Regions from separate parts of the Homo sapiens genome. Here all the other regions are linked to region 3. The links are contacts of gene promoters, found by promoter capture Hi-C in human tissues and cell types (Jung and others, 2019). All regions are on one chromosome and are shown on one strand. The core of a region is centred on a gene start or on the middle of the fragment in contact, and the rest is flanking DNA. Distances in the headings are between cores, read along the strand shown. Region 1 overlaps BPIFC (BPI fold containing family C). Region 2 overlaps LINC02558 (long intergenic non-protein coding RNA 2558). Region 3 holds the start of RFPL2 (ret finger protein like 2).

Region 1 (3,086 bases), core at 307-2,806, 230 kb before region 3:
CAGTTTTTCATCATTACTGAGTTTCTAGGATTCTTCTTCTTCTTCTTCTTCCTCTTCTTTTTCTTCTTCTTCTTATGCTTCTTCTTCTCCTTCTCCTTCTCCTTCTCCTTCTTTTCCCTCCTCCTCCTCCTCTTCCTCCTCCTCCTCTTCCTCCTCCTCCTCCTCCTCCTCCTCCTCCTCTTCCTCTTCTTTCTTCTTCTTCTTCTTCCTCTTCCTCTTCTTCTTTTGGACAAGGTCCCCCTCTGTCACCCAGGCTGGAGGCTGAAGTGCAGTGGCACAGTCACAATTCACTGCAGCTTCAACCTCCCTGGTTCAAGGGATTCACCTCACTCAGCCTCCCAAGTAGCCGGAACTACAGGTACGCGCCACCACACCTGGCTAATTTTTGTATTTTTTATAGAAACGGGGCCTGCCATGTTGCCCAGGTTGATCATGGAAAAACAGTCATTCAATCAATTCAAACTCCAGTGTTCCAGTGATTCACCCGCCTCAGCCTCCCAAAGTGTTGGGATTATAGGCGTGAGCCACCACACCTGGCCCGAGCTTCTGGAATTCTTATTCTGACTTCAGAGGGTCCATCTTCTTAGTCTTCTTAGAATTTGAGTTTTCACCTGATACACTGGTCTTTCTCTCTCTTTTCCCACAGGGTGTATTCTACCCACTGGAAAACCTCACCGACCCCCCCTTCTCACCAGTTCCTTTTGTGCTCCCAGAACGCAGCAACTCCATGCTCTACATTGGAATCGCCGAGTATTTCTTTAAATCTGCGTCCTTTGCTCATTTCACAGCTGGGGTTTTCAATGTCACTCTCTCCACCGAAGAGGTGAGGAGAGTTAACTGAGGATGTCAATGGTCACCATCATTCAGCCTTTTTATAAGTATCCTATTGTAGAACTTTTATGCCACAATTTCGATTCTGGGACCTTTTTAGGCTATCACTCCCAGCAAGACAGTGAAGGAATGAGGGAATTGTGGAGTGAACATTGTTACGGGTTGAGCATCCCTTATCCAAAATGCTTGGGACCAGAAGTGTTCTGGATTTCGGATTTTGTCAGATTTTGGGATATTTGCATTATATATACTTACCGGTTGAGCAGCCCTAATCTGAAAATCCAAAATCTAAAATGCTCCAATAAGCATTTCCGTTGTGTATCATGTCAGCATTTAATAGTTGGATTTTGGGGCACTTTGAATTTTGGATATTCAGATTAGGAATGTTCAACCTGTATTAGTTGGGGAGTTGTCAAGTTTCCAGTTCTGCTAATACCTCACCACTCACCACTGTTCTAGATTAATCTCCAATAATAGCAAGATCCCTTTCCATCATGTATTGCCTGTGACCTTAGAGGTAATTTCAATTTATATAACTTCTGTGGGCCAGAATTTCTTCATCTGGAAAAGGCAGATAATAATAGTTCCTTACTCATAGAGTTTATATGGGCATTAAAAGATTTAAATACATGTCAAGCATTCAGACCAATCCCCAACACAGAATAAGTGCGATATAACTGTTGCTTATCATCATTGTCATCATTATTCCCTGTATTATGCTGACGTAAAGTTATCCTGGTTGTAATTACAGCTGGTTTATCTACAATGATCAGTAATAATACAGATATTCATTGATCCTCTGTCATGCACCTCCCTTTTATAATGACAGCACTGTCTCTAGCCAGTCAACCAAAAACTTTTATTGAGCATCTCTTTTTGAATCTCCTCATTCTATATGTTTTAATTATATAAGTAGGTATAAAGCTTATGTTCAGAATGGTAAGTATGGCAGCAGTGGCTATCTTACGATACTGAGAATTAGACACTTCTAGCTGCAGACTTCAAAATCATTTATCTCTGAAGGTAAATTCCTTAAGCATCCAGTATCTCAGTAATCCCTAAAAGTGAGGACAGTAACACAAGGCTTATCGTTAATGACTGTAGAATATGTATACATAGATAGATTGTAATATATATAAGTGAAGAATATGTACACATAGATTGTAATATATATATAAATAAAGACTATGTACATATAGATTGTAATATATATAAATGAAGAATATGTACACATAGATGTAATATATATAAATAATATGTATACATAGATTGTAATATATATAAAGAATATGTACACATAGATTGTAATATATATAAATAAAGAATATGTACACATAGATTGTAATATATATAAATGAAGAATATGTACACAGAGTGTAATATATATATAAAGACTATGTACATATAGAGTGTAATATATAAATGAAGAATATGTACACATAGATTGTAATATATATAAATAAAGAATATGTACACATTAGATTGTAATATACATAAATAAAGAATATGTACACATAGATAGATTGTAATATATATATAAAGAATATGTACACATAGATAGGTTGTAATATATAAAAATAAAGAATATGTACATATAGATATATATATATATAACTAAAACTTTGTTGTACTACATACGTACAATTCATGTGTAAACATTCTACAGTTATTAACAATAGACTGTATTGTTCCCAGAGTTAAAAGAAATATAACATCCTGTGTGACCTTGGGCAAGTCACTTTACTTCTCTGAGCCTCGGATTCCCTATGATTGGGCTATAAAATGATAGGTCACCTTTAAACACTGAATATTTTATGGTGTAACAGCTTCACAATTCGTCAAATTATAGGGAACACTACATTTTCCCTGAAAAGACAATCCACGTAAAATCCTAACAGTGACATAATGGGCTTTATTTTCCAGATTTCCAACCATTTTGTTCAAAACTCTCAAGGCCTTGGCAACGTGCTCTCCCGGGTAAGTGCTCAGGGTTTGAGTCTTGATAGTGTATTTGGCTCCATTGCAATTACTTCTGGAAGACTTGTGGGTTCTACGTATTCCTTTTTGGATAAGTCCCTCTGTCTATTATTGGGAGTTTTTTCTCGTAATCGAATATCTACAAATATTTACTGAACAGTACAGTTTAAAGTGCAATTAACATACAAGTGAGAGTATAATTGTAAGTTCACAAAATAAATCACCGTGCCTTCCACAATATTCCATCATACTTGAAATAATTAGTTTAAATAAAGGAT
Region 2 (3,508 bases), core at 613-3,112, 190 kb after region 3:
TCTCGGCTCACTGCAACCTCCGCCTCCTGAGTTCAAGCAGTTCTCCTGCCCTAGCCTTCCAAGTAGTTGGGATTACAGATGAGCACCACCACATCCAGTTAATTTTGTATTTTTAGTAGAGATGGGGTTTAACTATGTTAGCCAGGCTGGTCTCGAGCTCCCAACCTCAGGTGATCTGCCCACCTCAGCCTCCTAAAGTGCTGGGATTACAGGCGTGAGCCACTGTGCCCGGCCTCATCTCTGCTTTTTCTATGTTGACTTATTTCAAACTATTCTGAGTGTTTCCATGTGTGGAGTATGAATATTATTGAAAAGTATTTTTAAGTCATCTAGCATCCAGGTAAACACTACTAATAATTTTCCTCACAGCTTTTACGTGTGTTATTGTTTGTACATACACACACACCAAGTATACATATTTGGGGATCAAAGTGTGTACATATAGTTTCATAGCCTGTTTTTGTTACTCAGCACTTTTTAATGAAGATTTTCCTTGTTATTAAATTTTATTTAAAAATGGGCCAGGCACAGTGGCTCATGCCTGTAATCACAGCACTGTGGGGGCCCAAGGCAGGAAGATCACTTGAGCTCAGGAGTTTGAGATCAGCCTGGGCAACATAGTGAAACCTCATCTACACACACACACACACACAAAAATTTTTTTTTGAGACGGAGTTGTGCTCTTGTTGCCCAGGCTGGAGTGCAATGCCACAAACTCAGCTCACTGCAGCCTCCGCCCCCCACCCCGGGTTCAAGCAATTCTCCTGCCTCAGCCTCCTGAGTAGCTGAGATTACAGGTGTGCACCACCAGGCTCGGCTAATTTTGTATTTTTAGTAGAGACCAGATTTCTCCATGTTGGTCAGGCTGATCTCAAACTCCTGACCTCAGGTGATCTGCCCGCCTCGGCCTCCCAAAGTGCTAGAATTATAGGCATGAGCCACTGTGCCTGGCCCCCAAAATTTTTTTAATTAGCTGAGTGTGGTGGCACACACCTGTAGTCCCAGCTACTTGGGAGGCTGAGGTGGGAGGATCACTTGAGCCCAGCAGGTCGAGGCTGGAGTGATCACACCACTGCAGTCCCAGCCTCGGCAACAGAGTGAGACTCTGTCTCAAAAAAAAAAAAAAAAAAAAAAAAAAAAAAATACAATGAATGAATTGAAAAATCCAATAGAGAGCAGCAACAGCAGACTCAATCAGACAAAAGAAAGAATCAGCAAACTTGGAGACAGGTCATTTGAAATTATCAAAAGGAATGAAAATGAGTAAAGAAACCCTGTGAGACTTGTGGGATAACATCAAGGGAACCAATGTGTGCATTATGGCACCTCCAAAAAGAGAAGAGAAATAAGCATAAAAGCTTATTTAAAGAAATGATTACTGAAAAAAATCCCAAATCTGGGGAAAATTGACATCCAGATTTATGAAGCCCAAATTCTCCAAATAAGTTAAACCTAAAGAGTTCTACATCAAGATACATTATAATTGAATTGTCAAAACTCAAAGACAAAGAGGTAATTTTGAAAGCAGCAAGAGAAATGTGACTTTTCACATAAAAAGAAATCCCCGTGAGACTGTCAGTATGTCTCAGCATAAACCTTGCAGGCCATAATAGAGTGAGATAATATATTCAAAGTGCTGGCTGGGTGCAGTGGCTCACATCTGTAGTCCCAGCACTTTAAGAGGCCAAGATGGGAGGATTGCTTGAAACTAGGAGTTCAAAATCAGCCTGGGAAACATAGTGAGACCCCATATCTACATACAAAAATTAGCTGGGTGTGGTGGTGCATGCCAGTAGTCCCAGATGTTGAGGAGGCTGAGGTGGGAAAATCACCTGAGCCCAGGAAGTCAAGGCTTCATCAAGGTTTCAGCGAGCCATGATCACATAACTGCACTGCAGCCTAGGCAACAGAGTAAGACCCTGTCTCAAAACAACAACAACAAAAATAAAAGGTTCTAGGAAAAAAAAAAACCTACCAACCAAGAATACCATACCCAGCAAAACTGTCCTATAAAAATGAAGGAAAGACAAACAAAAACTGAGAGGGTTAATCACCACTAGACTTGCCTTATAGGAAGTGCTAAATAAAGTTTTTCAAGTTGAAATGAAAAGATGCTAAACAGCAACATGAAAGCATATGAAAGTACAAAACTTGCTAGTAAAGGTAAATATATGGTCAAAAACATAATAACATAATAAAGTAATGGTGATGTATAAATTATTTCTAACCCTAGTATAAAAATTAAAAAGGGAATAAAAATAACTTTGTCGGCCGGGCACGGTGGCTCATGCCTGTAATCCCAGGACTTTGGGAGGCCAAGGCAGGCAGATCACTTGAGGTCAGGAGTTCGAGACCAGCCTGGCCAACATGGTGAAACCCTGTCTCTACTAAAAATACAAAAATTAGCTGGGCGTGGTGGCAGTCGCATGTAATCCCAGCCACTCGGGAGGCTGAGGCAGGAGAATTGCTTGAACCCAGGAGGCAGACGTTGCAGTGAGCCGAGATCATCCCACTGCACTCCAGCCTGGGCGACAGAGCAAGACTCCAGCTCAAAAAAAAAAAAATCTTGTCAGCTTTAAAATAAACTGTTATAACTATATTTTATGCAAGCTTCAGGGTAAACACAAAAAACCTACAATAGATACACAAAATATTGAGAGAAAATAATCAAAGCATATCACTACCAAAAAAAATCATCAAATCACAAAGAAAGAGAGAAGAAACAAAGAATCTACAAAATGGAAAACAAGAAAATGACAGCAGTAAGTCCTTACCTATCAATAATTACTTTTAAATGTAAATGAATTAAACTCACCAATCAAAAGACATATAGTGGCTGAATGGACTTAAAAAAACAAAACGATTCAACTAAGTGCTATCTACAAGAGTTTCATTTTAGATATAAGAGCATACAGGTTAAAATTGAGGAGATGGAAAAAGACCCATGCAAATGGTAGCCAAAAGAGAGCAACTGTGGGAACTGATATTAGACACAATAGACTTTTAAGTCAAAAACTGTCACAAGCGGCTCACGCCTGTAATCCCAGCACTTTGAGACACTGAGGTAGGAGGATCGCCTGAGGTCAGGAGTTTGTGCCAGCCTGGCCAAGATGGTGAAACCCCATCTCTACTAAAAATACAAAATTTGGCCGGGCATGGTGGGAGGCACCTATAATCCCAGCTACTCAGGAGGCTGAGGCAGGAGAATCACTTGAACCCCGGAGACAGAGGTTGCAGTGAGCTGAGATCATGCCACTGCACTCCAGCCTGGGTGAGAGAGCGTGACTCCATCTAAAAAACAAACTGTCACAAGTGACAAAGTAGGTCGTTATACAATGACAACAGTATCAACTCAATAGGAAGATACAGCAATTATAAATATATATGTGCCCAACATCACAGTACCTAGATAGAAGCATTAAGGGATCTGAAGGGAAAAATAGAGAGCAATGCAACAATATGTAGGAGACTTCAGTACCTCACCTTCAATAATGGATAGGTTACCCAG
Region 3 (3,260 bases), core at 231-2,730:
CCGATAGCGCCCCCGACCCTCCCCCACAGCTGGCAGTGTAGCACCAGATGGCAACCCCAACCCGCCCCTGCCTCGGACACTGCAGCACCAATGGCACCCGCAACCCACCCCCTGCCTTGGGCAGCGCAGCCCGGGATAGCGCCCCCAACCCGCTCCCTGCCGTAGGCAGTGGCTGTAGACAGTGTAGCCATGGGTAGCGACCCCAACCAGACCCCTGCCGTGGGCAGTGATGCCCCGATATGGCACCCAAATCGCCCCCTACCCCGGGCAGTGCAACCCTGGATAGTGCCCCTACCTGCTCCCCACCAGGAGAAGCAGCCCAGGATAGCACCCTCAACCCACTTCCTGCCTCCAGGCAGTGCAGCCACAGATAGCACCCAAACTTACTCCCCACCTCGGGCAGTGCGGCCACAGACAGCTCACCTAAACCACCCCCTGCCAAGGGCAGTGTAGCCCCCTATAGTGCACCCAACCTGCCCCTGCTGCAGCCAGTGCAGCCCCAGATAGCACACCCACCCGCTCCCTGCTAGGCAGTACAGACCCCTGATAGCACCCAACCCACCCCTCCACCGCAGGCAGTGTACCCGGCCCTCAATAGCGCCCCCAACCAACGCCCCCACCCCCTCTCCATGGGCAGTCCAGCCCCGGTACCAATCCCAACAACCCCCCGCTACCTGTCTCAGTGTAGCCCCCAGAGAGCGCCCTCAACAACCCCCTCCCCACTGCCAGCAGTGTAGCACCCTATAGTGACCCTAACCCGTCCCCCACCACCAGCATTGCAGCCCCAAATAGTGCCCCCAACCCGCTCCCCACTGTGGGCAGTGCAGCCATGGATAGTGTCCCCAACCAGCTCCCAGATGCAGGCAATGATGCCCTGGATATCACGCCCGCCCCCGTCCCCCACAGGCAGAGTAGCACCGGATAGCAGCACCCACCCTCGCCACCAGCAGTGTTGCACCCACCAGCCCCCCACAACCTGTCCCCAACAAGGGCATCAGGGCATTGCAGCACCTGATAGTTCTACTAACTCACCCCCGCCCCCCGGCCGCGGGCAGTGCATCCCCAGATAGTGCCCCCAAAACTCCCCACTGCCGCAGGAATTACAGCTTCGGATAGCGCCCCAACCCATCTCCAGCCATAGGCTGGATAGCGCCCCCGGATAGCGCCCCCACCCCACTCCCCTCAGCGGGCAGTGACGCCCGAGGTACCACACTCAAGCAGCCCCCCAACACGGGCAGTGACGCCCTGGATAGGGCCCCCAACCCGCCCCCCACGCCACAGGCAGTACGGCCTGGGATAACGAACCTATTCTGCCACCTTTTCACCATTCTGGCTGCGCTGTAGTCACCCTCGCGGCCACCAACCGCAGCAGCGAGGTGAGCCACTGTAGGCTCCAGCCTCCAGCATGCGCGGTAGATGACTCTAGCCTCTGGCATGCGCGGCAAGTGGCTCCTCCTCCTTCTCCTCTAAGCCGGGCACAGAGCAGCTACGCAGGCCGACGCAGATGAGCCTGGAAGGGCAAGCCACCCCTCTTGGCATCCTTTATATACTGAGTTTAATGCAAATGAAGTTTCTCGACTACATAGTCTGATCGGATGAGAGAAACCTCTAGGCCTACTCTGATCGGGCTTTGTTATCTTGTTCTGATTGGTTATCCTAAGACTTGCTGTCATCCAGTCAGAACGTGAAAATAAAGCACAATCAGAGTAGACCTAGAGGTTTTTCTCTCATCCAATCTGAACATGTAGTCCAGAAACCTTACTTGCATAACCTCGGTCTGTGGGGGGAGGGGTTCTTGCCATTCCAGGCACTTCTGCGTCTGCCAGCCCATCTGCTCCATGCCCAGGTTAGAGGAGGAGTCACCTGTCCCACGCTGGAGGCTTGAAAGCCTGCAGCAGCATGGCTCGGCTCGCTGCCGTTGGTGGCGGTGAGGGAGACTAGACCGCAGCCAGAATGTAGAAAGGTGGCGGGGTGGATGAGCTATCCAGGGCTCACTGCCTGCGGCAGGGGGCGGGGAGGGGGACAGGTTGGATGCACGATCTGGAGCTGCACTGCCCGAGGTGGGAGCGGGGGCGGATTGAGGGCGCCATCGTGGGCTACAACCCGGTGGTGGGAGGCGTGTTAGGGGCAGTATTGGGTGCTGCACTGCCTACAGCACGGGAAGGTTGGGTGCTTTACCGGACGTCATTTCCCGCAGCCGCGGGGTGGCTTGCTGGGGGCGCTATCCGTGGCTGCACTGGTCGCGCTGGGGTACGGGTTGGGGGCGCTATCTGGGACATCAGTGCGCATGGCAGGGAACTTGTTGGCTGTGATATCCGAGGCGTCACTGCCCTTGGCTGGGGGCTGGTTGGGGGCTCTATCTATGGGCTACACTGCCTACAGCCAGGAGCGTGTTGGGGCGTTATCGGGGCGGACTGCCAGTGGCGGGGGTGGGGGTGCGGGTTGGGTGCTATCGGGGGGCTTCACTGCCTGGCAGGGAGTGGATTGGGTGCGCTATTTGGGGTTGGACTGCCGGCGGTGGTTGACTCGGTGGGAGGAGAGGGGCAGAGGGAATGGGTTGGATGCACTATCGGGAGCTACACTGCCCGAGGCGAGGGGGAGATGGGGGCGCCATCGTTGGCTACACCGCATGTAGTGGGGGGCGTGTAAGGAGCAGTAGTGCGTGTTGCATTGCTCATGGCGGGGGAGGGTTGGGTGCGTTATCCCGGGCGTCATTTCCCACAGCGGCGGGGGTCAGTGGAGGGGCTTGTTGAGGGCGCTATCCATGGCTGCACTGGTCGCTGAGGGGCAAGGATTGGGGGCGCTACCTGGGACATCAGTGCCATGGTGGGGAACTTGTTGGGTGTGTTATCCGAGGCATCACTCCCCATGGCTGGGGGCTGGTTGGGGGCGCTACCCATGGGCTGCACTGCCCACAGCCAGGAGCGTGTATGGGACATTATCGGGGGCGGACTGCCAGTGGCTGGGTGGGGAGGCGGGTTGGATGCTATGTGGGGTTGCACTGCCCAGCAGGGAGTGAGTTCGGTGCGCTATCTGGGGTTGCACTGCCGGCGGTGGGTGGCAGATTGGGTGCCCTATCGCTACACTGCCGCGGCGAGTACCGGGTTGGCGGCGCTATCCTGGGCTACACCGCCGGTGGCGGGAGGCGTTTTAGGGGCGCTATCTGGTGCTGCACTGCCCGCGCAGGAGTTGGGTTGGGTGACCTACTCCAGGCGTCACTGCCCGAGGCTGGGGGCTGATTTGGGGCGCTATCCCGGGAG

Evidence for each region. Contacts are between HindIII fragments. The study calls those that stand out against the background at their distance.
Region 1: a fragment that was not itself captured here is called in contact with the fragment with the promoter of RFPL2 in region 3 in 2 of the 25 tissues and cell types used here (lymphoblastoid cells and spleen).
Region 2: a fragment that was not itself captured here is called in contact with the fragment with the promoter of RFPL2 in region 3 in 6 of the 25 tissues and cell types used here (IMR-90 fibroblasts, dorsolateral prefrontal cortex, heart left ventricle and 3 more).

Annotation. Positions count from the first base shown.
Region 1 is chr22:32,433,441-32,436,526 of GRCh38, reverse strand. BPIFC (BPI fold containing family C) reads left to right here. Exons shown (of 17, transcript NM_174932.3): 10 at 647-823; 11 at 2,755-2,808. Among named protein-coding and RNA genes, the nearest start is that of RTCB, 23 kb to the right of the region's middle. The HindIII fragment of the contact is 8,775 bases long and covers 1-3,086 here.
Region 2 is chr22:32,011,858-32,015,365 of GRCh38, reverse strand. All of the region lies in intron 4 of LINC02558 (long intergenic non-protein coding RNA 2558), which reads right to left. Among named protein-coding and RNA genes, the nearest start is that of SLC5A1, 30 kb to the left of the region's middle. The HindIII fragment of the contact is 4,927 bases long and covers 1-3,508 here.
Region 3 is chr22:32,203,293-32,206,552 of GRCh38, reverse strand. RFPL2 (ret finger protein like 2) reads left to right here and starts at 1,480. Exons shown (of 5, transcript NM_001394555.1): 1 at 1,480-1,846. SLC5A4-AS1 (SLC5A4 antisense RNA 1) reads right to left here and starts at 1,438. Exons shown (of 4, transcript NR_149072.1): 1 at 1,306-1,438. RefSeq lists an enhancer at 1-36. The HindIII fragment of the contact is 14,140 bases long and covers 1-3,260 here.